Regions from separate parts of the Homo sapiens genome. Here region 1 is linked to region 2. The links are contacts of gene promoters, found by promoter capture Hi-C in human tissues and cell types (Jung and others, 2019). All regions are on one chromosome and are shown on one strand. Each heading gives the region's core, a stretch centred on a gene start or on the middle of the fragment in contact. The rest is flanking DNA. Distances are from core to core; before and after follow the strand shown. Region 1 overlaps LINC01122 (long intergenic non-protein coding RNA 1122). Region 2 holds the start of BCL11A (BCL11 transcription factor A).

The links. Contacts are between HindIII fragments. The study calls those that stand out against the background at their distance.
Region 1: a fragment that was not itself captured here is called in contact with the fragment with the promoter of BCL11A in region 2 in 1 of the 25 tissues and cell types used here (dorsolateral prefrontal cortex).

What each region holds. Positions count from the first base shown.
Region 1 is chr2:59,061,419-59,064,118 of GRCh38, reverse strand. It overlaps LINC01122 (long intergenic non-protein coding RNA 1122), which reads right to left. Exons shown (of 14, transcript NR_033873.1): 14 at 353-2,700. Among named protein-coding and RNA genes, the nearest start is that of LINC01793, 150 kb to the left of the region's middle. The HindIII fragment of the contact is 3,651 bases long and covers 1-2,700 here.
Region 2 is chr2:60,552,403-60,555,102 of GRCh38, reverse strand. BCL11A (BCL11 transcription factor A) reads left to right here and starts at 1,449. Exons shown (of 4, transcript NM_022893.4): 1 at 1,449-1,887. The coding sequence starts at 1,833. RefSeq lists an enhancer at 140-189 and silencers at 880-969, 2,379-2,700. The HindIII fragment of the contact is 9,532 bases long and covers 1-2,700 here.

The DNA of each region.
Region 1 (2,700 bases), core at 150-2,649, 1.5 Mb after region 2:
GAAATTGTTTAAACAAATGTGAACAGCTTTCTATTTTTCTGAAGACTAGAATTTTCCTAGTTCTCTCTGTATCATCCAGTGACATGATTATTTCTTGTGACCACAGACACTTGAATGTGAGTAGTGAACAGGTAGCTGCAGTTTGGTGTCATCTATTTTATTTAGCTCTTTTATCAAACCAGCTAGGTAATTAAAGGTTCATACTCAGGGCCACAAATTGGCAAATATTTTTGTTGCAGGCCAGATAGCAAATACTTTTGTCTTTTGGTCCATATAATTTCCATCACAGCTACTCAACCCTGCCATGTGTGCAAAAACAGCTACAGATGATGTGCAAACAAATGAGTGTGACTATGTTCTGATAAAGCTTTATTTACAAAAACAGGCAGTGGGGTAGATTTGGCTCACAGGCCATCATTTGTCAACCCCTGCTCAGGACAATTCAACCAACGGACTGTGGAAAGAAAGTAATGTATGCCCAGCCACAGCAGAGAGTAAGTGCTCAACAAATATATTTTGAATAAAAATTAGTATTAATTAAACTAAAGCACACACACACACACATTTTACTCAACACTAGAAAAATGAAGCTACCTCGAAATCAGAATCTATGATTTAAAAAAATTAGTGACTTCTTGGAATCAACAAAACTAAGTAGCAAATGAACATGAAGGAGACACAGATTTAGCAAACTGGCTCTCATTAATGTCAATGAGCATTTAAAGCTAATGTTCATGGAAGCTAAGTAAAGGCAAACTGCTCTTCACAATCAACTGGCCGCAAAGGATGCCACTATATTATACAATACCATATAAAAACTGAGATTTACAGTTATGCCCTTCTGCCATCAAAATAAGAGAATGTTGGAGAAAATGTTGGCTACGTCAGGGAGATGTGAAATGTTTTTTGTTGGTTGGTTGGTTGATTGGTTTTTTGAGATGGAGTCTTGCTCTGTTGCCCAGGCTGGAGTGCAGTGGCGCAATTTGGGCTCACCACAACCTCTGCCTCATGGGTTCAAGCGATTCTCCTGCTTCAGCCTCCTAAGTAGCTGGGACTACAGGTACGTGCCACTATGCCCAGCTAATTTTTTTATTTTTATTTTTAGTAGAGACGGAGTTTCACTATGTTGGCCAGGCTGGTCTCAAACTGACCTCATGATCTGCCCACCTCGGCCTCCCAAAGTGCTGGGATTACAGGCATGAACCATCGCACCTGGCCCAAAATGTATTTATTTTTTTAAGGTACACATTGAAATGAGAAGTTTTAAAATAATTATCTCTCTTGAAAATATGAGCTTTATTTATCTCATAAATAAGCTTCAGATTTGAGGGTAACATTCTGGATCTCGGTCCAAGCACTGCTTCTTGCCCTATAGCCAGAATCTTCTCATCCAGTGACAAGGGCAGGGCCAGATAATCCATGGTACACAGACCCTGATTCTAAAATTCAGTGAGTCCGATGCTAGCTTCCACTGTCTGCTTTTTAGTTAGAGAATTCCTGACTTTTTCTATTATGTTTATTACCTAAAGGTGAAGTGTTGGATTGCTTGTTTTTTTCCTCCCCTACTAAGCAGGTTTTCACTCCACTTCCCACATCCCACCCCAGACCTCTCACAAAAAGAGTCTCATCTGATATGTGAATGCAGCTTATCTCCCCATAGGTAGCCAGGAACAGGGTGCACAGTCAAGGCAACCCCAAAAATGGCCTCTCTCCCGGCCGCGCCTGCAAAGTCGTCCTGAGCGTCCTGAACGTTCCTCAGCTGGAGGGGCTTTTCCCTACTCAGTGTCTGGACCATTGCCAAGAAGATCTGTCCAGCTGTAAGCCTGATTTTATATAGTTATTTTCACTTATTTTTTATTTTGCAAAATGTAAACGAATCTGTTTAGCTAGGAAATCACGTCCCTTGAAAGTGATTATAACCTAATTTGACATGCAGTATTTGTATACTTATTCTAGTGTTATGATGCATTTACTGTGTTTACATAAATACAGATTTCTGTATAATTACCACAAGATAATGTAAAGAGTTAATCATATGAAATCCCCCAAAATCTCATTTGAGTGATTTTTTTTTTTTAATTTGAAAGTAAATTTTCCTTTAGAAACAAATTGGGCCCATTTCCAAAATATTCTATACATCTTCTTTGAGAGGCTCACAAAAACATCTACTTTATCCATTCTTACTGATCATTAATTGATATGGTCTAATTGCCCTTACACCTAATACGTGCCAAATAGCAGCAAAGATAGCATAGACATGAGTCTTGCCTTCAAGGGTGTTACATGTAAACAAGTCTGGAAGGGCTTCATGGGGAAAGGTGGAACTCTGCCTTGAACTTATCGGCTGATCTTTGATAATCACTATGGTTCCTTCATGATCTATACAATGAAAACTGAATGTAAGAAAAGATTTTTATAGAAGAAATATCAAAAAGAGAGGCAACTAGCATGAAGGAAGAACTATACAGATTTTAAAACTTACCTCTTTTTATTTTATTGACAAATGAAAGAATTTCCCTCAAATTGGAATACTTTACTAAAACTGGGAAGGAGTAATCACATAAAGAACAACCCAATAGTTCTATACTCATACACCAACTGAAGCTATACTAGTAGATAGCAATATACAAGTATATCAATATACTACTTTTTTATCTTTCTGAAGGTAAATCAGTGTTTCTCTCTGCACTTATCTGCTTC
Region 2 (2,700 bases), core at 200-2,699:
GTGCGTGTGTGCATTAAAGAGACAGGGTTTTATTTCCAACAGGTCTTCCCTAATTTCCAGGGAACGTCTGCAGAAAGGCGAGAGGGGGCTGCTGGCTCCTGGGTGTGCGCCTTGGCCGGCGGCGCCTGGGGAGCGCGGCGGTGACCCGAGGCGGTCATCTCACCACCGTGGTCTCCCCGCTGCTCCTGCGAGCCTGTCGCTCTCTCTCCATTCCCATTTTCTCTTTCCCTGGGTAACAGCACAGGAACAGTTGTGCTCTGCCCGTAAGAAACATTTTCTTCCCATCCCTCTGTGCTTTTGCAGTTGCTCTGGAGTGGGAGGGGGTGTGTCCCTCCCAGGGACCCGGCTCGGGGACCTCCCGCGGCGCCGTGAGCACATTCCCAGGGACTGGGACTCCCGGGACTGCCCGCGCTTTGTCCTCGGCCTCTCAGAGAGGTGGACGCCTCGGTGCCTCTCTTGCCCAGGCCCCCGGCGCTCCCCTCCGGGGGCCAGACTCTGGCTCCTCGTTCTTTATTCCTCGGGCTCTCTTTCTGCGACCCTTAGGAGCCGGGGACTCGGCGCTTTCAGTTGCATTCAGACCCAGTCGCTTGGCGGGGCGCTCAGATTCCCGGTCCCTGGCTCGGCCTTGGGGGCGCCCTCGGGCCCCGGCCTGCGCCGCCTGCCTCTCCCCGGTCCCCTCTTTCCAGGCCGCGCGGGCTCCTGGAGACTTGGGCGCTGCCCTTCCGGACCCGCAGCCCTCCAAACTTAGGCTGGATTCCGCGTTGCCGTGCGCTCCCTCCCACCTCCCCTCGCCCGCTGCGGAGCTGTAACTTGGAGGCTCAGCTCTCAACTTCGGGTGATTTTTCTTTGCTGTCCTCTCCTCGGGCAAAGTTTCCCGAGCGCAGCCGCGGGCTCGGGGCTTTTACTTCGGCCCCTGGCGTCCACACGCGGGGAGCGAGCGCGGCGGCGGCGGGGAGGGGAAGTGGGTGTGCGTACGGAGGAGGGTGTCCGGGAGCAACTCTACCTGGCTTCCCTCCGCCCGCGCTTCCCCAGCCCGGGGCTGCAGCCTCCCGGTGCACTCTCGCTCTATTTTTTTCTTTTTTGAATAATCTTTCATTTTAGAGTCCGCGTGTGTGGGGGGGAGCAGGGCGCACGTCTTGCTCCCCCCCACCCTTTCCTCCCACCCCTGCCACCCCTTTCTTCTCTCCCGGCCACGCCACCGCCGCGGCGCTCGCTGCGGCCACTGGTGAGCCCGCGGCCCCAGCGCCCCCTCCCCTCGGCCCGCCCCTCCCCCGGGGGCCGCGTCTGGCGTCCGCGGAGCCCCCCGCCCCGCACCTCCCCCTCCCCGCACTGGCCATTGGCTTGTCCTGGTCTCTTTTTCATGTCCAGCCCCTGATGTGTGTCCATTGGTGTGAGCTTCCCCTTCCCTCCTCCCCTTCTCTCCTGCTCGCCCTGCCCATGTTTTGTGTGTCTCTGTCCATCCAGACTCCTGACGTTCAAGTTCGCAGGGACGTCACGTCCGCACTTGAACTTGCAGCTCAGGGGGGCTTTTGCCATTTTTTTCATCTCTCTCTCTCTCTCTCCCTCTATCTCTCTTCTCTCTCTCTCCCTCTTTTTTTTTTTTTTTTTTTTTTTTTTTTTGCTTAAAAAAAAGCCATGACGGCTCTCCCACAATTCATCTTCCCTGCGCCATCTTTGTATTATTTCTAATTTATTTTGGATGTCAAAAGGCACTGATGAAGATATTTTCTCTGGAGTCTCCTTCTTTCTAACCCGGCTCTCCCGATGTGAACCGAGCCGTCGTCCGCCCGCCGCCGCCGCCGCCGCCGCCGCCGCCCGCCCCGCAGCCCACCATGTCTCGCCGCAAGCAAGGCAAACCCCAGCACTTAAGCAAACGGGAATTCTCGCGTAAGTAACCCAATAATAGTAATAATAATTATTAATAATCACGAGAGCGCGCAGGACTAGAAGCAAAAGCGAGGGGGAGAGAGGGGTGTGTGCATGCATTTTTAAATTTTTCACGAGAAAAACCTCCGAGAGTCGAGGTAAAAGAGATAAAGGGGGAAAAAACCCTCATCCCATCTGGAACCATTGCCGTGTATGCACTTTTGAGACAGCACGCACCTTTTAATTTTATTTAATTTTACAAAAATTTGACTCCTCCTCTTTCCTCCTTTCCGCCGCTTTATTTCTCTTTTCGAAAAGGAATGCAATGATTCCACTCCCCCCCCGCCCCGCCAGTTTTGCAAAATAATGAACAATGCTAAGGTTGCGAACAACTCACATGCAAACCTGGGGGTGGGAGCTGGTGGGGAAAGGGAGGTTGCTTCCCACTCACCGTAAGAAAATGGGGGGGTAGGGAGGGAGTGAGTACAAGTCTAAAAAACGATTCCCGGGGAGAAAAGAGGTGAGACTGGCTTTTGGACACCAGCGCGCTCACGGTCAAGTGTGCAGCGGGAGGAAAGTAGTCATCCCCACAATAGTGAGAAAGTGGCACTGTGGAAAGGGGCCCCCGGCGCTCCTGAGTCCGCGGAGTCGGGAGAGGGGCCGCGGCGACGGGGAGAGCCGTGGGACCGGGAAGGACGGGAGACGCGGCCGGCACTGCCGCCTTTTGTTCCGGCCAGAGGTGGGTGTTTGTCCCGCTGCCTTTTGTGCCGGCTCCTCGCGCTTGCCCTCCCGCGCCGCCGCCGCCGCCGCCGCCGAAGGGCAGGAGCTAGGGCC